Linked DNA regions of Homo sapiens: all the other regions are linked to region 5. Evidence: promoter capture Hi-C in 16 types of primary human blood cells and fetal thymus (Javierre and others, 2016). All regions are on one chromosome and are shown on one strand. Each heading gives the region's core, a stretch centred on a gene start or on the middle of the fragment in contact. The rest is flanking DNA. Distances are from core to core; before and after follow the strand shown.

Evidence for each region. Contacts are between HindIII fragments. The CHiCAGO score rates a contact against its expected background, and 5 or more counts as called.
Region 1: a contact is called between a fragment that was not itself captured here and the fragment with the promoter of CTU1 in region 5, in 1 of 17 cell types (naive CD4 T cells). The highest score is 5.4, in naive CD4 T cells.
Region 2: a contact is called between a fragment that was not itself captured here and the fragment with the promoter of CTU1 in region 5, in 2 of 17 cell types (non-activated CD4 T cells and activated CD4 T cells). The highest score is 5.6, in non-activated CD4 T cells.
Region 3: a contact is called between a fragment that was not itself captured here and the fragment with the promoter of CTU1 in region 5, in 2 of 17 cell types (naive CD8 T cells and naive CD4 T cells). The highest score is 6.9, in naive CD8 T cells.
Region 4: a contact is called between a fragment that was not itself captured here and the fragment with the promoter of CTU1 in region 5, in 1 of 17 cell types (naive CD4 T cells). The highest score is 5.1, in naive CD4 T cells.
Region 6: a fragment that was not itself captured here is called in contact with the fragment with the promoter of CTU1 in region 5 in 1 of 17 cell types (activated CD4 T cells); the score reaches 6.6 in activated CD4 T cells.
Region 7: the fragment with the promoter of ZNF784 here is called in contact with the fragment with the promoter of CTU1 in region 5 in 3 of 17 cell types (total CD4 T cells, naive CD8 T cells and activated CD4 T cells); the score reaches 5.5 in total CD4 T cells.

The regions. Positions count from the first base shown.
Region 1 is chr19:54,459,626-54,462,398 of GRCh38, forward strand. LENG8 (leukocyte receptor cluster member 8) reads left to right here. Exons shown (of 16, transcript NM_052925.4): 16 at 1,141-2,391. The coding sequence ends at 1,303. It overlaps LENG9 (leukocyte receptor cluster member 9), which reads right to left. Exons shown (of 1, transcript NM_001301782.2): 1 at 2,107-2,773. The coding sequence ends at 2,465. Among named protein-coding and RNA genes, the nearest start is that of LENG9, 2.8 kb to the right of the region's middle. The HindIII fragment of the contact is 2,076 bases long and covers 277-2,352 here.
Region 2 is chr19:54,205,138-54,207,837 of GRCh38, forward strand. It overlaps RPS9 (ribosomal protein S9), which reads left to right. Exons shown (of 5, transcript NM_001013.4): 4 at 1,139-1,325; 5 at 2,261-2,510. The coding sequence ends at 2,438. Among named protein-coding and RNA genes, the nearest start is that of RPS9, 5.6 kb to the left of the region's middle. RefSeq lists enhancers at 689-1,197, 1,705-2,212, 2,213-2,700. The HindIII fragment of the contact is 3,025 bases long and covers 1-2,700 here.
Region 3 is chr19:54,437,520-54,440,219 of GRCh38, forward strand. No RefSeq gene overlaps it. Among named protein-coding and RNA genes, the nearest start is that of LENG8-AS1, 10 kb to the right of the region's middle. The HindIII fragment of the contact is 1,153 bases long and covers 773-1,925 here.
Region 4 is chr19:54,187,135-54,189,834 of GRCh38, forward strand. MBOAT7 (membrane bound acylglycerophosphatidylinositol O-acyltransferase MBOAT7) reads right to left here and starts at 2,446. Exons shown (of 8, transcript NM_024298.5): 1 at 2,204-2,446; 2 at 1,299-1,377; 3 at 1,083-1,212; 4 at 27-153. The coding sequence starts at 1,374. It also overlaps a transcript of TSEN34 not described here. RefSeq lists enhancers at 1,774-2,459, 2,460-2,700. The HindIII fragment of the contact is 2,118 bases long and covers 392-2,509 here.
Region 5 is chr19:51,107,117-51,109,816 of GRCh38, forward strand. It overlaps CTU1 (cytosolic thiouridylase subunit 1), which reads right to left and starts at 1,293. Exons shown (of 3, transcript NM_145232.4): 1 at 1,231-1,293. RefSeq lists an enhancer at 1,259-1,588. The HindIII fragment of the contact is 4,633 bases long and covers 1-2,700 here.
Region 6 is chr19:55,110,119-55,112,879 of GRCh38, forward strand. PPP1R12C (protein phosphatase 1 regulatory subunit 12C) reads right to left here. Exons shown (of 22, transcript NM_017607.4): 2 at 2,547-2,677; 3 at 2,349-2,467. Among named protein-coding and RNA genes, the nearest start is that of PPP1R12C, 6.1 kb to the right of the region's middle. The HindIII fragment of the contact is 402 bases long and covers 1,311-1,712 here.
Region 7 is chr19:55,623,082-55,625,853 of GRCh38, forward strand. It overlaps ZNF784 (zinc finger protein 784), which reads right to left and starts at 1,485. Exons shown (of 2, transcript NM_203374.2): 1 at 1,403-1,485. The coding sequence starts at 1,480. RefSeq lists enhancers at 1,466-1,965, 1,716-1,865 and silencers at 1,466-1,515, 1,586-1,645. The HindIII fragment of the contact is 2,172 bases long and covers 1-1,808 here.

The DNA of each region.
Region 1 (2,773 bases), core at 65-2,564, 3.4 Mb after region 5:
TGGCCAGGTGGCCCTCCGTGTGAGGTCATGGTCACAGCATAGTTTGGAGCTAGGGAGGGACTGTCAGCCTGGAGGTTTGGAGACTCATTCTGGAATCTAGTGTGGGTCAAGCCAACTTCAGGGAGAGGCTGAGCCAGGGTAGGAGTCACAGGAGCAGACGAGGATGTGGGGTGCCGTGCACAGAGCTCCATGACCAGCTTGGGAAGTTAGAAGGAAGGGGAGGCAGGAGGCTGCTTAGTCTGCTGCCATGATGGGCCCCATGAATGGTGGCTCTCAAGCTTCTGTGCTACACAGGGGTGTGTGGTTGGGCGAGTGTCCTTGTTAATTGATACCTAATTGGCCTTGGTTGGGAACATAGCCATGAGTGCCCCTCGTGGGTGGGGCGCCAGTCTGTCATTGACCTCATTGTGTCAGCACCTTCCCCCCAAGGAGGCTGACCCTGCCCTGCCAGCTGAGACTGGGAGACGGAGTGGGCTCTGATCCCAGGGCTTCCAGGAAAGCTCTGGCTTTGGAGCAGAAGCGGGTTCTAGGACTTAGTGCCCCTCACTCGGTGCCTGGGTTCCTGTGTGTGTGGAAAGGGTAGGGCTGCACCCTGTGGAAGAGGGTTCAGGGAGCTCTGAGGACCTGGCTCGTGCTAGATGCTCAGTCAGTAGTGTGTTTTAGCAGCAGCCGGAAGTGACTGCTTTCAGTGTGTAGTGGTGAGTGCTAGCTGGCACCCCTGCGCCTGGCTTCCCAGACACTGTAACGCAGGGCAGGGGAGGCAGCGAGGGCTGGGTCCCCACGGTGGCCCTGGCAGCCCCGCCATCCCCATCCCCTGCCACGTGCTGCTCCCTCCATCTGGTCCCTGCCCCTCAGCCAGCGGAGGAGCCCGCTGGGCCCTTCCCTGCCCGTCCCCGCTCCTCCCTGGCCCCCGCACAGGTAAGTGAGGGTGAGGGGGGCACAGGGGACTGGGGTCACTAACCCCCCCCGGGCCCCCCCCGAGCCCCTGAGGTGGGGAGGCTGGGAGGCGGGTGGGGAGCCAGCAGGCACTGTGCTGAGGAAATCCTGTGGGCACCCGAATGGGGGGGCCTCCCCGCTCGTGGGGCCCTCCCCTGCCCTCCCGCCCGCCCGCCTCATCACCTTCTCCTCTTGTCTCCATAGCTTCCGCCCTGCGCTGCCAGTCTCCTACCTGCAGGCCGAGCTGGCCTTCGAGGGCGAGGCCGCCTGCCGGGCCTTCCTAGAGCCCCTGGGCCTGGCCTACACGGGCCCGGACAACTCCAGCATCGACTGCCGCCTCAGCCTGGCGCAGCTGTCAGCCTTCTGAGCACCCAGCGAGGAGGGGCGGGGGCAGGGGCTGCAGCCCCCAGCGCTGCCTTTGCGGATTCTGTTTTTGAGCCGTGGACTTGGGTTGTAAATTTATTTGTGGGGAGTGCGCTCCAGGAAGAGCCACCATCCCTGCCCCCGTTTTCCCACCGGGGAGTCTGTACAGAGATTTTTCTACGTTTTTATTTTTTGCCTCAGAGGGATGGGATTGGGGAGGAGGGGATGGGCAGCGGAGGGTTGGGGGCATGGTCTGCAGGCTCATCTGTGTCCGCCTTTCACTCCACTAATGCTGTCTCAGTGTTTTCTCTCTCTCTCTTTCGAGCTTGCACTCCGGTACCCGACCCGGCGCCCTGGCCCATCCCATGCCGGGGGGCCAGTGGAAAGAAGACAGGCCGTCCAGCCCGTGCCCGCCTGCGGCGGGGGCACCCAGCAAGCCCGCCCACCGCCCGCTGCCTCACCTGCTTCGCCACAGACTCTTGTTCCCAGCCCCTTGGGGCCTCCGTGTTTGGGGTGGGGGAGCTGCTTAGAGACTGTGCCCGTCCTCGGCCCCCCACCCTGAAGTGCCAGCACCACCAGCACCAGATCCTCCGCCGCCACACCGCACTGAGGACACGCCGGCCGGGCCGCCTCGTCTCAAGTTGTATAAAGTTGTCTCCGTGTCCCCTCCTCCCTCTGCCCCCAGTGTTTCTTCTGATTTTTTTTTCCCCTTTCCCTCCCTCCCTCTCCGCATTCTTCCCTTGGTTCAGCACAGGTAAAACGGTTCCCCTCCCTCCCTGCCTTCATGGATCACCAGCTCACGTCATGTTGCCTTCTCTTTTCTTTGTGTGTGTGTTTATTTAAGTTATTTTTCTTCCTCCTCTCCCTTTTCTTTTTGGCCCTCCCTCCCTCCCTCTTCTGCCATGTAACTGGAGGATGTGCTATGAGTTTGCAAACAGCTGGACTGTCAGGCTGCTTTTTTTCCAGATGTTCCTCCTCTGCCTCCCCTTCCCCTCCTCTCCCCTCCTTTTCCTTCCTTCCTTCCTTTCCTTGGAGCACTGAGCACCATTTGGAAGCTTGAGAGAAACCAAAATTAAAGAGAGAAAGAGAGAGCGTGCACGCTCCTGCTTTGTCTTTCCTGTGTGGGCTGTTTGCATCCATTGTCTCCTCCAGAGGTCTGGGGGTGTCACTCCAGGGGGATCTCAGCCAGGGGCTGGAAAGGCCCCCCTGTCCTCCCTATACGGCACAGCCAGAGTGTCTGCAGGGGCTGGCACCCCACTTCCTGGCTGAGGGTGAACTCCAGCTTGGGGAGGTGGACCTGGGAACCATGGGGCACCTTGGCCACGGTGAGGTGGGGGTGCAGCTGCCCTGGAGACTGTAGTGTACTCAGCCCCTCGGCTTCCAGCCTCTGGCTCAGCACTTGTGCCATGCTTTCCAGTGTGGGAGAGGGTGGGGCACACAGCACATGCGGGCCCAGGAGGACCAGCTTTCTAAA
Region 2 (2,700 bases), core at 201-2,700, 3.1 Mb after region 5:
AAAAAAGGTTGAGGTGTTTACCCCAGTCAAGGGGCAGTTGATTTGCTGAAGGCGTGTGGGATTATAGCAGTGAGCGGGAGCCTAGGGGATGGCGTTTGCCCCCAGGGCCCTGGGGCTGTGGGCAAGGGCAGTCCAGAGTATTAGCTAGAAGCCATGGCTTTGGACAGGGTAAGGAGCAAGCCGTCCTGAGCCTGGGGTTGGAAGAAAGGTGTAGTAGGGCATCTGTTGGATATTTTATGCAGTGCATTGTTAGGTTATATACATACTAGATATATTTTTGGTGGAAAATTTTGTACAGAATAGTAAAATGAATGACATGTACCTAGCTGGAAAAATTCTAGTGTTAGAAATTACTTTTCTCTCCTTAAAAGATGTAGATACTGCTATTTATGGCACGGAATGTGATTCAATCTCACATCTGCTTAATCAGAAGAGCTGTCTGGGCTGAGGATATGAACTCTTCAGCACTGTGCTTTGTTACGGTGGTAGTAGCTTAATAGCAGCTGCATTTGGTCTTTTGCAGACTGAGTCCTTGTAAGGAGGTGATTTCCTTTACTCTTGCTAAGAATGTGGAGCGAGGGATGTATGCTCTCAGATGAGGAGGCAGGTGTATTTTGCCCTCCTGTCATCTGCAGTTTACTATGAATGATGACCTGACAACCATAGGGTAGTTTGGTTTTTTGTATTGTTTTGTTTTGTGACAGGGCCTCACTCTGTCGCCCAGGCTGGAGTGCAGTGGCCCCATCTCAGGTCACTGCAACCTCCGCCTCCTGGGTTCAAGCAGTTTTCCTTCCTCAGCCTCCTGAATAGCTGGGATTACAGGCAGTGCGCCAACGGCCTGGCTAATTTTTCGTAATCTTAGTGGAGACGGGCTTTCGCCATGTTGGCCGGGCTGGTCTCTCAAACTCCTGACCTCAAGTGATCCGTCTCGGACTCCCAAAGTGCTGGGATTACAGGTGTGAGCCACCACTCCCAGCCCGTAGGGTGGTTTTGACAGTGACATGGGTCACGGTGATGGCGCTGTACTACTTGTGCCTCACCGCCGCGGCATGGAGCTACCAAGAGGCGGAGCCAGGATTTGAACCCAAGAAGCCTGAGGTCAGAAGGCGGAATCAGTGTTTCCTCCCACTCTTCCCAGGCAACGCCCTGCTGCGGCGGCTGGTCCGCATTGGGGTGCTGGATGAGGGCAAGATGAAGCTGGATTACATCCTGGGCCTGAAGATAGAGGATTTCTTAGAGAGACGCCTGCAGACCCAGGTCTTCAAGCTGGGCTTGGCCAAGTCCATCCACCACGCTCGCGTGCTGATCCGCCAGCGCCATATCAGGTACCACCTCGGATGGGCACCTGAATCTTCCTCCACCTGCCCCTCTGATGGTTGCCCTCACTAAGCCTGCTGTCCCTATCTCCTATGCAGCCCTCGGAGGTGATGGGTGTGAACTCACCCAGAGGGTACAGATTCACCCTTGCACACAGCTCACCAGGGAGCTGGGGCAGCCTCTTGCCCCAATAGCCCAGCGCAAGGGTCACTGCGGCTCTAGCCGTACACCTTGTGAAGGCCTCTGCCAGGCATGTGGGCAGCTGGACAGGTAACAGCTCTTGGTGTCCCCAGTGGAGGGAGAGAACCAGCCTCACCTCGCTTGGGTGGTGGGTTCAGCTGTCTCCTGGCCCGCTTGTGAAGTTGATTCCAGACCCCGATCCATGACTGCGTTCTGGGTACTCAGTGTGCCCTTTCTGTAATGTGGCACCATTGAGGGGGAGGAGCTGTACAGAAAGAGGGCAAGATGTTTGCGTTTAGAATCTTCGCCCCAGCCCTTCACTAACCCTGTGAGCCGTAGGCAGAGCCTTGTGTGTCAATGCTTTCGTCGGAGACGTAGCCTCGGGTTGCTGTGTTATTGTGGGCATTGCTGCTGCACGTGGTAATACAGCTCAGTGTCAGGTGTGGGGTTCACGATATTTCAGACTCGGAACTTGGGGGCTCTCACATGGCCATCTCATTTGCTTTGTGGTCTTAGGTGGGATACTTTCGGATTTCTCCTATAAAATGGGGTTGAGAAAGTCATCTGAAGCATTTTTGGGGATTAAGGTGATACCCTAAAACCCCGGAGGGCGCACGTAGGATCAGGTGCACCCTTCCTGCAGCGCCTTGGTGTCTGCAGCCGTGGCGGCCTCACGGGGTGGGTGGAGAGGAAAGAGTGGTGCGGTAGCTGGGGTTAGCGTCCGTTTCTCCTCCAGTCCACCTCACCTTGTCGCTGCTTCCAGGGTCCGCAAGCAGGTGGTGAACATCCCGTCCTTCATTGTCCGCCTGGATTCCCAGAAGCACATCGACTTCTCTCTGCGCTCTCCCTACGGGGGTGGCCGCCCGGGCCGCGTGAAGAGGAAGAATGCCAAGAAGGGCCAGGGTGGGGCTGGGGCTGGAGACGACGAGGAGGAGGATTAAGTCCACCTGTCCCTCCTGGGCTGCTGGATTGTCTCGTTTTCCTGCCAAATAAACAGGATCAGCGCTTTACAATTGGTGTGTGGGGGTCTCTCATCCTTGACTCTTTCCCCTGCTCTAAACATGCAGCCTTCCCTGGGAGGCTCACTCACTTGGGAGTGCCTACCAGCTAGTGGTCCCTGGCCTCTCAGTACTATTCTACAGTAGTGAACACACATCTTTACCAGAAACTTCTGTCATCAGGGGAGAGACGAGTGGTATTTTT
Region 3 (2,700 bases), core at 99-2,598, 3.3 Mb after region 5:
AATTTTTTGTATTTTTAGTAGAAACGGGGTTTCACCGTGTTAGCCAAGATGGTCTCGATCTCCTGACCTCGTGATCCGCCCGTCTCGGCCTCCCAAAGTGCTGGGAATACAGGCGTGAGCCACCGCGCCCGGCCAAGACCCTGCCTCTTAAAAAAAAAAAAAAAAAAAGACAAAAAACAGAGAGAGGCTGGCTGCGGTGGCTCATGACTGTAATCCCAGCATTTTGAGAGGCCAAGGTGGGTGGATCCCTTGAGGCCAGGAGTTTGAGAGCAGAGTGGCCAACATGGTGAAACCCCGTCTCTACTTAAAGAAAAAAAAAATTAGCTGGGCATGGTGGCACAGGTCTGTAAGCCCAGCTACTCGGGAGGCTGAGGCAGGAGAATTGCTTGAACCCGGGAGGTGGAGGTTGCACCACTGTACTCCAGCCTGGGAGATCAAGTGAGACTCCATCTCAGAAAAAAACAAAACAAAACAAAACAAACCAGAGAAATTAGGAGAATATTTGTATATTGTCTGCATGTCATGTATCTGGGTAGGGAAAATGGGGAGGGAGGAGTTTAAGCAGGAGATCATAAAACCAGAAAGGAAAAGATAGCTTAGTTGGCAAATTATAGATTGAAAAACATACCGTAAAGTCAAATGGCAAATTGACAGACTGGGGAACAGTGAGTGTGTGCGTGCGTGTGTGTGTGTGTGTGTGTGTGTGTGTGTGTGTGTGTATGTTAACAGTTATGATGCAGAAATGTTATTCTTAAAAGATATAATCTACAAAAGCTTTCATAAACTAAGAAAAAGACAACCCATTTAAAAGTAATCAATTGAGTTGAATACTCAATAAAAATTCCAACATCAGTAAACAGACAAAAAGATTCAAACTCTAATAATTGGGAAATGCAATTTGAAAGAATGAGAAACTACACTTTTTCACTACCTAGACACAATGAAATTAACAAGAGTGGTGATGTCCTGGGCGGGCGAGGACCTAGAGGAACAGGCACTCAAAACACTTCTCCTGAGGCTGTGAGCTGCCACCATCCCTTGAAAAAAAAAAAAAATGCGCTTGTATGTGATCAGATCAAAACTGCATACACCCCATGCCCCAACAATCCTGCTTTTGGGAATTGATTTACAGAAAAAGACACACAGGCTTCTGAAGACTTCTATTTAGAGCTGCCTGTTACAACGATACCACTTTGATCAGCTAAACCCTGAAAACAAACATGCACAAAAAGAGAAGTCCAATAACTGACTGCACAGCAGGGCTCTCTGGAAGAAACCAGCTCTTGGCTGAGTTGAGGATGTGAGGGAAAAGCCTGGCAGAGAGGAGCTATCAGAGCAGGGTGTGGCAGACAGCAGTGGCAGAGTGGACTGAAGGAGAGGGGCCTGCACAGTGAAGGGCCCAGCTTATCATTCAAGGCACCCCAGGCCACCATCCTGGCCCTGCTTTTCATGACCTTCACGGATATGGGAAAGTCACTTGACCCGTTAGACCTCGGTTGCCTCTTTGATCAAACGGGTATCAGAAATCCAAAATTCCAAAATCCACAGATCCAAAGAGCTCCAAAGTCAAGCCATCCCCAAGCTCATTGGGCAGGAAAACCTGACCTGTGTTGGTGGGAGATGACTTACAGACATGACTGACACGCTTGGTGTGAACGTTCACATACTTCCCTGCAGAAAAGTTAACCAGGCTGCTGCACACTGCTGTGCTGAGCACTGAGGGTGCCGTGTGCCCTGTGGAGTAGAGATCATATTGCCTTTGCAACTGAAAAATCCTGAATCTCAACACACACCTGGCTCCGAGGGGATCGAGTTGGTGCTTGGTGACCCACAGTGCCAGATGCTGGTGTACAGCGTGGGGCCTGCTGCTGCTCTGTGCCTGTCAATCATTTCTATTTTGTGTACTGCAAGGAGCGTTCAGAGGAAGCTTTAGATATGTGGGCCTGACGGTGGGAATAAAAATCAACTGCAATTTCAGGGAGGGGTTCTGGGGGCCACATGCGTTCACTCACTTTTTCCTAACCATGTGGGCTGTCTGCCCCAGGCCCGGCCCTGCTGCTATGCTGACTTCTTTCCTCTCAAACACTGCCCTCTAGTGCCCCTGAGCCCATTTCCCAAGCACAGGCATCCGCTGGCTGTTGGGCGGCTGCAAAGTACCTTGAGACTCAGCTGCTTGATCTCCCATGCCAATGAGCCTGGGGGTGATCTCTCAACAAGAAGTTGGCCGGGCACCCTGGCTCACGCCTGTAATCCCAGCACTGTGGGAGGCTGGGGCAGGCGATCACCTGAGGTCAGGAGTTTGAGACCAGCCTGGCCAACACGGTGAAACCCCATCTCTACTAAACACAAAAATTAGCCGGGCATGGTGGCGGGCGCCTGCAATCCCAGCTACTCAGGAGGCTGAGGCAGGAGAATCACCTGAACCCGGGATGCGGAGCTTGCAGTGAGCCGAGATCGCGCCACTGCACTCCAGCCTGGGCGACAGAGCAAGACTCCGTCTCAAAAAAAAAAAAAAAAAAAAAAAAGGCATTTTACCCAAACTTTACAAAAGGAAAATCCAGTGTTATTTTTAGAATGTTACCTATGGGGGCTTCCACTGCGACCAGGATGGAGTCACAGAGACTGGACTTGACCCCCCAAAAATAGAGTAAATACAAGAAAACAACAGTGGTCAAGACTCTACCAAGAAAGTGATCCCTG
Region 4 (2,700 bases), core at 201-2,700, 3.1 Mb after region 5:
GGGGAGTGGCAAGCCCCGAGTCTGACCTTCAGCGTCAGCAGCAGCTGGACGGCATTGGTGAAGGGCGTGGGAGTGGGCAGGCCCAGGAGGCTGAGGGCTCGGAAGAACAGGAGATAGGAGAAAGTCCAGGCCAGAGCCAGGGCGTGGCAGGAGCTGGGCAAAAGCAGGAGGCGCACTGTGTTGGGCACAGAAGTCTCGGCCTTGGCCACTCACTCCACGAGTCCAGCCACCAATCCTCCCCCAGCTCTCCCCATTCGTTTAGAGACAGAAACACAGAAGGGCAGAGAGGACAGGAGGGTGGATGTAGGGACCGAATGAGTATGATTGAAACAGTGGGAGAAGAGGCTCAGCCACATAGAAACACACACCAACAGAGAATGAGGTTAAGAGAAGCTTCGGGTGAAGACCCTGCAATCCTCCACTTTTTCTTTATTTCCGAGGTCCAGGGCTCAAGAAGAGAGAGGTGGATATGAATGAATATGAACGGTGGCCAGGCCAGCAGACACACTGTCCACCTCTCTCCATGACATGGATGTAGCGGACTGGGACAAACACACAGGGACCAGACGCAGAAGGCAGGGGAGAAAGAAAAGCAGATGAAGGCCGGATGCGGTGGCTCACGCCTGTAATCCCAGCACTTTGGAAGGCTGAGGTGGGCAGATCACAAGGTCAGGAGTTCGAGATCAGCCTGACCAACATGGAGAAACCCCAGCTCTATTAAAAATTCAAGATTAGCCAGGCATGGTGGAGCATGCCTGTAATCCCAGCTACTTGGGAGGCTGAGGCAAGAGAATCGCTTGAACCCGGGAGGTGGAGGTTGCAGTGAGCCAAGATCGTGCCACTGAACTGCAGCCTGGGCAACAGGAGCGAAACTCCATCTCAGAAAGAAAGAAAGAAAGAAAGAAAGAAAGAAAGAAAGAAAGAAAGAAAGAAAGACAAACAAACAAACATGAAACAGAGAAATGAGCTGATCAACAAGAGACAGCTAGACATGAGGCAGAAGCTGAAAAAGACTCAAAGAGGAAACAGGTTGCTTCCCCCTCTCCCCTCCTCTCCCTCTCCTCCCTCCACCAAATTCTCACCAGGGCTGGGCCTGAATGAGGGCCCAGGTCCCGAGGATGGTGACCAGAGAATGCAAAGTGTGGGGGCCACAGGTGAACAGGGTGAGCCCCAGGCCCACAGCGGCTGCTCCCCATCTCTTCAGCCCAGGACCTGCAGGGGGAAGGGACAGCATAAGCCTGGAACCTTCCAGAGGGTCCCCCCCCTTTATTTTCCACTGGGGAGGGAGCCTGACTCACCGGCTTTCTTAAAGAGGAAGCCGATGGGGATGGAGATAAGAAGAACCACTAGATACGTCCATTCTTCAGGCGACATGGTCTGGGGGAGGGGCAGAGATTCACAGTGAGAACCCAGGAATCCAGGCCCCCTGCCTCCTCCCTCTTCGAGGATCCAGGAACCCAGCCTTCTAGACCCCAGTTTTTGAGGATGATGGAGTATGAGCCTCAGCTCCTCTCCTTTGAGAACCTAGCAACCCAGACTCCAGCCCCTTCCTCCTTGGAGGAGACAGGAATCCACCCCCAGCCCCTCCTTTGAGCGCACAGGCCTCCAGCTCTCCTGTCCTTGGAGAACCCAGGAAAGTGTGGGGATCTCCCAGCACCCAAGCCCCTCCTTTGCGAACGCAGAAATCAAAGCTACTCCCCGCACCCATACTGGGGACCCAGATTTGAAGACGCCCCTCTTTTAAAAACCCAGAAACGGCACCCCTCCCGGACCCTTCCTCTTCGACAGCCCAGGAATCTAGACCTCCGAGCCCCCTCTTCCAGCGAGGATCCAGGAACCCAGACCCCCTCTTTGGATCCCCCATCCCCCGGCCCTTGTGAAACCAGATATCCGGACCCCCCAGCCCTTCTCCTTCGAGACCACCCAGAGGAGCCCGGGTCTCCAACCTGCACCTCCTTCGGAGCTCCACACCCCTCTCCTACTGAGAACCCGGGGATCGAACACCCTCCCCTCCCCAGGCCCAGGCCCAGGCCCAGCCCCAACCCGTCCCGCGCACCCCAGCGCATCCCCGGCAGAGCCACAGGCGGTTGCGCCAGCCCCGAGTTCCAACGCGCCTCCGGGGCCGCCCCGCACCCGCCAGCCCGCAGAGACCCTGCCGCCGTGTAACCTCGCCTCGCCACTGGGCGCCGCCACCCTGGCCCACCTGAGCTGCTCGCCGGGCAGGAGGCGGCCGAGCAGTCCCAGCCCGCTTGCCGCCGCAGCTCCGGCCACGCCTCCCCCGCCCAGCGCGCCCCCGCGCCGCCTGCTCCTTCTGGGCGCCCGCCGGGCTGCGCAGATCAGGCCGGGGAAGAAGCCACGGTCAGGGCCCCGGGCGGGCAGGGAAGAAGCCCCGGAGCAGAAGCCGAGAGCGCGAGTCGGCAACGGGATTCGAGTCCAGGTCCACACTGGGATCCGAGCTCCGAGTACGTGAAGGGGCGGGCCTTCGGGCTCGGAACAAGGAGGAGCCAAAAGCTTTGGACCCGAAGGGGAACAGACGGGCTCTGGAAAGGAGGCGGGGTCTGGAGCTCGGCGTGAGGAATGAGGCGGGGTCTCCCTTCGGGTTCCTTCGGGCACAATCGGGAGCTTGAGTTCTCCGGAAGCGGGGCCACAAACTTCGGCTCACTTCGGCAATAGTCGAGAACGGAGAGCTGAGGCCACTGT
Region 5 (2,700 bases), core at 43-2,542:
GACGCTCGCAGGGGACAAGGCTGCACAAGTTAGCAGAGCCTCATAGGCCATGATGTGGAATTTTAGGTTTATTCAGGAGGAGATGGGAGCCTTGGGAGGTTTTTGAACAGTAAAGTGGTATGATCTGGCATGTTTTAAAAGGATTCCTAGACTGGTCAACATAGCGAGACCCCATCTCTAAAAAAATAAATAAATAAATTAGCTGCACCTGGTGGCACAGGCCTGTAGTACCAGCTACTCAGGAAGCCAAGGCAGGAGGATCACTTGAGCCCAGGAGGTCAAGGCTGCAGTGAGCCATGATCGCACCAGTGCACTCCAGCGTGGGTGATAGAGTGAGACCTTGTCTCAAATAAAAAAAGTGGGATTCGTTTGGCTGCTGTGTGGGGAGGACTGTTGGTTGTCAGGGACAAGGACAGAAGGCTGGAGGTCAGCACACTAGACAGGAGTGCTGGCAGTAGAGGTGGGAAGAAGTGAAATTTTGGATCTATTTTGAAGGTGGAGCCCACAGGACTTGTATAAGACTGATTGGAGTGGGGACTGGGGCAACGACGAGAGAAAGTGATGAAGGGTAACTTTGAGGTTCTGGCCTGAGCATTGGAGGGACGGTGGGGCCATTTTGTGAGGTGAGAAGACCAGGAATTCCATTTGGCCACGTCAGGTTTGACATGCATGTTAAGCGTCTTCCCTCAAAGACTTTATGGACCCTCGTCACTGAGTCGAGCGCCTCCACCAGGGCCCTCAGAGCTGCCCTGATCCTGACTAGCTGTCACTGGTGACAGGTCTGTCTCTCTGCTTCAAGGCAGGGACAGGGTTGGTCTGGTGCCCTCGCTCCCGCCGCCCTGCGCAGAGTCGGTGCTCAGTAAGTATCTGTAGGATGAGGGAATAATAAGTGCTCCCAGAAGAGAGGCCGCGGACCCCAGGGATGCCTCTGGATTGCAGCCTTGTCAAAAGGACAGATAATGTGTGGCATGGGGGCGGGGACAGGCAGATAGTAACATAGGGGCGGGGGCAAGCAGATGGTCTTATCCTGTCTTGGGGAAGGGAGTGGCCCGGTAAGAGACAGGCCGGACCGCAGCGTTCAAAGTGGGAATCCTGGCTACAAGGCCTCAGGGACACGGGCGCTGGGAAATCACAGAGGCCTTACGCTCGAAGAGACCCTCAACCCTCCCACGGCACCGCAACAAAGAGCCGGAGTCCACATGCCGACCCACCGCAGGAGGAAATACTCACCCGGGCAGAACTCAGTGCTGGGATGCCCACACTGCCCACCACGCGGAAGCCTGGCCCGGAAGTGACTCCGAGACTACCACTCCCATAAGGTCTTGGGGCTTTCTTGCCTAGAACTCCCAGAAGCCCATGCGACACTTCCGCTGGATGCGCCTACGGCTCCGGGGTCCCGCTTGGCCTACAACTCCCAGAAACACTTGCATTGCTCTTTCTGCCGCTCCCAAAATACACTGCTCCCCCTCCCCCCGCGTTTACTTTCTGCGCCTGCGCGCGGCCGCAGGGAGCGGCGGAGCTGCGTGTACTGTTGTCATGGCAGCGCGCTGTCACCCGGCAGGTTGCTGGATGGGCGAAGTAGTTGTATTCTGATTAACTGATTTTGTGGGATTATTATAGGATTTTAAGGGGATTACAGGGCCTATGATTTCTGCCCTTTGAGGCGGGGTTGCGGGTGGGAATTGAAGGTGGAACTGCAGGGGTTGGTCGCTAGTGTAAAAGGCGCAGATAGCGCATGCGTAGAGCAGACTTCGAGGATTGGAGTGGAACTCCGCGCGCACGCGGGGGCTGTCGTGATGCGCGTGCTGGAGACCCAGACTCTAAACAGAAGGATCCAAAGACCCTTCTCACCTAACCCAGGAGCCCAGAGGCTCAGAGACTCAGACCCTTGAGACTAAGGGGGTTAAAAACGCAGACCCCTGGCACCAAAGCACCTGAGAGAACCAGTAGACCTGGAGACAACCGTCTGCACCCTAGACACAGGGATCTGGAGGCCTCCACCCTCCCCACAAGGCCCAAGGGTCTTGAAGACCCCGGTGACTCAAATACCGGGGCACAAGGAGTTTAAGGACTCAGATATCTGAGACCCTTGAGATCCAGGTCCCCAAACCTAGGTCCTCGAAAAAACTGAGGCTCAAAATTCCTCTAGACGGCGCGGTGGCTTACACCTGTAATCCCAGCACTTTGGGAGGCCGAGGCGGGTGGATCACGAGGTCAAAAGATGGAGACCATCCTGGCCAACATGGTGAAACCTCATCTCTACTAAAAATACAAAAATTAGCTGGGCGTAGTGGTGCGCGCCTGTAGTCCCAGCTACTCGGGAGGCTGAGGCAGGAGAATGGCTTGAACCCAGAAGGCAGAGGTTGCAGTGAGCCGAGATCGCGCCACTGCACTCCAGCCTGGCCACAGAGTGAGACTCTGTCTCAAAAAAAAAAAAAAAATCCTCTAGATTAAGGGACCACCAGAGCCTTAGACTGAGATGTGGAGATGTGCAGAGAGCCCCAGGATGTGTAGGTCTACGGCCGGTGATGACGTGAGAAGGAACCCCATGCACCCTGTAGCCCATTTTTTTCCCCCATAACAGGAAACCATGATGCCTTCCTTTCATATTAAATGAGCTCCGTGAGGTCACTCTTAAGCCTTATCATGGGCCAGTTCTGTTCATCTGTGTGCGTTGGTTCATTTGTTGAATTTATTTCC
Region 6 (2,761 bases), core at 262-2,761, 4.0 Mb after region 5:
GGAGGCCATTCCCGGCCTCCCTGGGGTCCAAGGGAAAAGGAGGACTGATCCAGACAGAGGGAGCCTAAATCACCCAGATCTGGATCCCTAGCTGGGCCCTGAACCAGAGCGGGAGAGGCTACAAAGAATGTCAAGGAGAAACGCAGGCAACAGTGTAGCATCAAGGTTGGTGCAGTGGGTGAGAGTGTAGCATCAAGGTTGGTGCGGTGGGTGAGAGTGTAGCATCAAGGTTGGTGCGGTGGGTGAGAGTGTAGCATCAAGGTTGGTGCGGTGGGTGAGAGTGTAGCATCAAGGTTGGTGCGGTGGGTGAGAGTGTAGCATCAAGGTTGGTGCGGTGGGTGAGAGTGTAGCATCAAGGTCAACACAGGGGGTAGCGTGTTGCATCCCTACTGTGGTTCTGCAGGAGGTTTTCCTTGTGGCAGGAGATACCTGCTGTGCATCAGGCGAAGATGTACAATGCCTGCAACACAGTCTCAGAATGGCCGGGCTCACGCCTGTAATCCCAACACTTTGCGAGGCCGAGGCCAGCAGATCGCCTGAGGTCAGGAGTTGGAGACCAGCCTGGTCAACATGGTGAAACCCCATCTCTATTAAAAATGCAAAATTAGCTGGGCATGCTGGCTCACGCCTGTAATCTCAGCTACCCAGAAGCTGAGGCAGGAGAATCGCTTGAACCCAGGAGGTGGAGGTTGCAGTGAGCCGAAATCATGCCATTGCACTCCAGCCTGGGCAAAAAGTGAAACTCTGTTTCAAAAAAAAAAAAAAGGCTCAGGAATGGAAAGGCAGGGGTGGGGTGGTAAGAAAGGAAGGGAGAGATGGAGGGAAAAAAACAGGAGGAGAAAGGATAGGAAAAAATGTGTTTATGTCTATACCTGGGAAGAGATCGCAAGGGAGGGACAGAGAGAAGGAACACAAATCTATCAAAAAGTTAAAAGCTGATGATTCTATACTGTATGATTCCCTTTATGTGAAGTGTACAAAACAGCAAATCCACAGACAGAAGGCAGAGAGGGCTTCGTGGGGTGGGGGGGAGGGGGGGGTGCATGGTTGGGGGTGATGGCTAAGCGGTTGCAGGGTTTCGTTGGGGGATGATGAAAATGTTCTACAACCAATGTGGTCATAAATGCCCGACCCCGTGAATAGACTAAAAAGCACTGAAGTGTGCACTTTGGGTGAATTGTAGGGTAGGTGAATTACATCTCAAAAAGCTGTCTAAAAAACAAAAACAAAAAAGAAAAAGCACTGGCGAATCTTAGTGAAAGTCATATGGGTAGTCACATGCTATTGCTTCAACTTTTCTGTAAATCTGAAGCTTTCCCAAAATAAAAAGTTGGAGGAGGAAGGAGACAGAATCCAGGTCCAGGGCTGATTTGACCCACTCCCCATTTCAACCAAAGAGGGGCTCCCGAACCTCAGATCTCCGCCGTCACGTGTCCCACTAGCTAGTCCTCCCGCATGGCTCTCGTGGACCCCTGAACCCACGCGGAATCCTATCCTTTCAGCCTGGCCAGCGGCCCCGTCAGGACAGCCGCGTCAGAAGTCTCGGAGGCTGCCGGTATCTCATTTCCTCGTCAGTCTCCCTTTCCTTCCACACGGTCCCCTGGAGTCTGCCGGGAACCATGCTCACACCCTTCCACTCCAACCCAGCCAGACCCTGACAACCACCCCATGAAGCGGCACCAGTGGTCCTGTTTTAGGAAATCAGGGAAGCAAGCTTCAGGGACGTGCCTGGAGTCACCAGTCACAGGCAGAGCTGGGAGGCAAGCCCAGGACTTTAGAAGACATGCTGGGGACCCAGGGATCCTGTGTGGCCATCACACACCTGCTAGAAGCAACACCCCTTCCCTAGAAAAATGAACCTGGCCAGACACAGTTTCAGGGGCTCCTGGACCCCATATGAAGGCTCCTGGGGTACGATGAGTCTCAGAGGACAGGGAGACCAGTCCCTGGCAACCCCTGCATGCCCCTACTCCCCCCCAAGTAAACGCATCCCCTCCCAGAAAGACCTGCGGCAGGGTTCCAGCAATCCTACCTAACGCACTCCTGGGTGAGTCCCTCCACCCACCCACCCCGCCCCGGCATTCCAATCCCCTCAGTTACTCAGGGGGATTGACAGTCCCAGTTGGTAGGGGTTTGAGTTCTCATCCTGTGCGTGTGCTGGGCTCCAAGCAATCCTGGAGGCAGGCCCCTACACCCCCATTTCACAGGTGAGGAAACTGAGGCACAAAGAAAGACAATCCTAGGAAGCAGGGTCAGCCTCGGTGCCCAGGCCGCCTCTAAAGCTCTCAGCCTGGAGACCACGGGTGAGGAGGTGTCCCCCACCCCACACACAGCACACCAGAGCCCACCTCGGCGGGCGATCTCCGCCTTCAGCAGCCCCTCCATGGCGTCCGACTCGGCCAGGTCCAGGGGCAGGTCCCCGTCACTGTTGACGGCGGCGATGTTGGCCCCGTGGCTCAGGAGGTACCTGGGGGTGGGGGCTGGTCAGGGCTGAGGGTCCAGGCCCCCACCCCGACCAGGTCCTGCCCGGCCCTCCCTTGCCTCACCTGGCGATATCTAGGTAGCCACAGGAGGCGGCCACGTGCAGTGGCGTCCAGCCCTCGTTGTCTGCCTGGTTCACAGTGGCGCCCTGCTCCACCAAGAAGCGCACCACCTCCAGGTTCTCATCAATGCAGGCCTGGGGGTGGGAAACAGCCGTCAGCCGCACCTACCCCAGCCACGGTGTCCCAGCAAGTCGGGACTCCAGAGGGAGCCACGAAAA
Region 7 (2,772 bases), core at 235-2,734, 4.5 Mb after region 5:
ACGAGAATCGCTTGAACCCAGGAGGTGGAGGTTGCAGTGAGATGTGATCATGCCACTGCCCTCCAGCTCAGGCGACAGAACAAGACTCCATCTTAGACAGCAAAACAAACAAAAATTATTATTATTATTTTTAATGTAGAGGGAGTCCCACTATGTTGCCCAGGCTGGTCTCCAACTACTGGGCTCAAGAGATCCTTCTGGCTCTGCCTCCTAAAGTGCTGGGATTGCAGGCGTGAGCCGCCGCGCCCGGCCCATCCTCCAGGATTCTGTTGTATCCTCATCAACATTTCCTCTCCTGTCCAAAATATATCATGGATCCCACCTTTTGTCCTCCACCCTAGTTAAAGCCCCATCACTTGGCGCCTCCAAAATTGAAAAACCCAAGGGCATCTCTGTTCCTATTTCTGCTGGCTTGTAACCCACCTCCCAGGAATAGCCTGAAGGTCTTTTGAAAATGTAAATCAGATCAAGTCATTTTTCGCACTCAAAACCCTCCAGTGGCTCCAAATGACTTATCCCAAATCGTCACTATAATATCTGTGGCGATGTAGCTCCACTTATCTCTCTGACCCCAGCTTAAACATAAGCCGGCACCCAGCTGACTTCTCTCGTCTAAATTTAGCTGCCCCACCCCTACTCTTGGCTCAATTTATAGAAATTGGCTCAATTTTTATTTCCTTTATAGAACATATCACAGTAACTCTCCTTTATTGTCTCTCTCCTCTCAAGAGACTGCAGGCTCCAAAAGAACACAACCCTTGTCTGTCTTGGTCACTTCTCTATTTACAGAGCCGAAGTAGGAGCTCAGTAAATGTTTGTTGAATGAATGAATGTCCTCAATTAGTCTAATTCTGAGTGGGGTAACGTGGAGGAAGTTCCAAAGTCACCTAGACCACCCACTTCTACCCCCAAATTCTCCCTTGGGCATTCGAGAAGCATCACTAAGACCCTTGAAGAATTATCCCCTACCCCGACATAGGTGCTCCAATCATAATCCCCCACGTTTTTCAGGGTCACCTTCCCAACCTTCTACCCTAGAATTAGCCCTAGAATTTATGAGGCCCCGCCCCTTACAAGGCTCCACCCAAATTATGCAAATTATCCCTGGTAAGCCCCCTTCCCTGGACCCAAACCCGTCCCACAAGACAACACCGTCCTCAGACTCCGCCCCCATCCAGGCCCCGCCCACCACCCATAGGTCCCTCCCCCACCCCGCCCACCATGACATAGTCTCCTCCCCTGCCCCGCCCCTCGCGAAACCACAAGAAGCCCCACCCCCAGGGCCATAGCACTAAATACCTCCCTCGCCCACCCCCTCATAGGCCACGCCCCGGACCCGCCCCCCACACTACGACCTCCTCCCACCTCGAGCCCCACGCCCAGGCCCCTTCCTTGCCCGCACCAGGTCCAGTGGCTCCTGGGATCGCGACTCCGGAGTCGGTGAGCTCCGACTCTGGGCCTCTGGGCGCGCAGCGGCCATCTTGTGCCCAAGCCCCGCCCCCAAGGCCAATGTTCGCTCTGAAAGGGGGTGGGGCTCGAACTGGCGTAAGAGCTACTGCGCAGGCGCAGTGCGGGGCTGCGAGGGGGCGTGGTGCAGCAGGGGGCGTGGCGGGGCGGGGCGTGGCGGCTGAGCCCGGGAGAATGTGAGTTGTTCCCTCTCTAATTACCTGTCTGTCCCTCCGAGGGTACGCTCTGTGTGGCGCTAGGATGCCTGTAACACCCTGGGAACAAATCCGAACGTTCCTTCTAAACCAACGCAGGCCGACTCGAGGCTCTGGCTGTCAGGGGAACCTCAGCAGAACTGAAGAAGCTTTGCTTTGTTTCCACGGTAAACGTTTTTGTGATTACCTCTGCACTGCTCATGACAACGTAATGACGCCAAGTTTATAAACGTCGGTGTAGGCCGGGTGCGGTGGCTCATGCCTGTATTCTCAGCTACTCGGGAGGCTGAGGTGGGAGGATCGCTTGAGGCCGGGAGGTCGAGGCTGCAGTGAGCCATGATCTCGCCACTGCATGCAGCCTGAGTGACAGAGACTCTGTCAAAAAAAAAAAAAAAAAAGGCAGTGTGGAGAAAAATATTCAGTAAACAGCAACACAGGTGGTCCTGGGAGGACGCAAAAACCCGCAAGCTGATGTTATGTTTGGGAGGAAAGAGCTCAAAAACGCGGGGTTTTCAGCAGCATCAAGGACGGGGCTCTTCTTAGCTGCCCCGTTTAGTCATTCTGGTGGTATCACCTTGGATAAGTCACTACACTTCTCTGGACCATTTCTCTTTCTTTTGTGTAGCACTGTAGAAGCATTGTGACAAACCACTGAGAAGAGACATGGAAGAGTTTGGAAACATCTTTAAATAGTTTTCTTGAAAGGGCAGGATAGGAGATACTTAAACATGATCCTAAGCATGATCATTTCATTCATAAATATATATGAAATTATATTTTGTGATATGTTGGTATAAAATAAAGATAAACACCACTTAGGCTGAATTATCTCCTCCTCCTCCTTTCTTCTTCTTTTATAGAGATGGGGATCTTGCTGTCTTGCCTTGCCCAGGCTGGTCTTGAACTCCTAGCCTTAAGCGATCCTTCTGCCTTGGTCTTCCAAAGCTATATTTCCCTTCTTTTCTTTTGATTTTAAAATAATTTTTTTTTTTTTGAGATGGAGTCTCACTCTGTCGCCCAGGCTGGAGTGCAGTGGCATGATCATGGCTCACTGCAACCTCTGCCTCCCGGGCTCAAGCGATTCTCCTGCCTCAGCCTCTTGAGTAGCTGG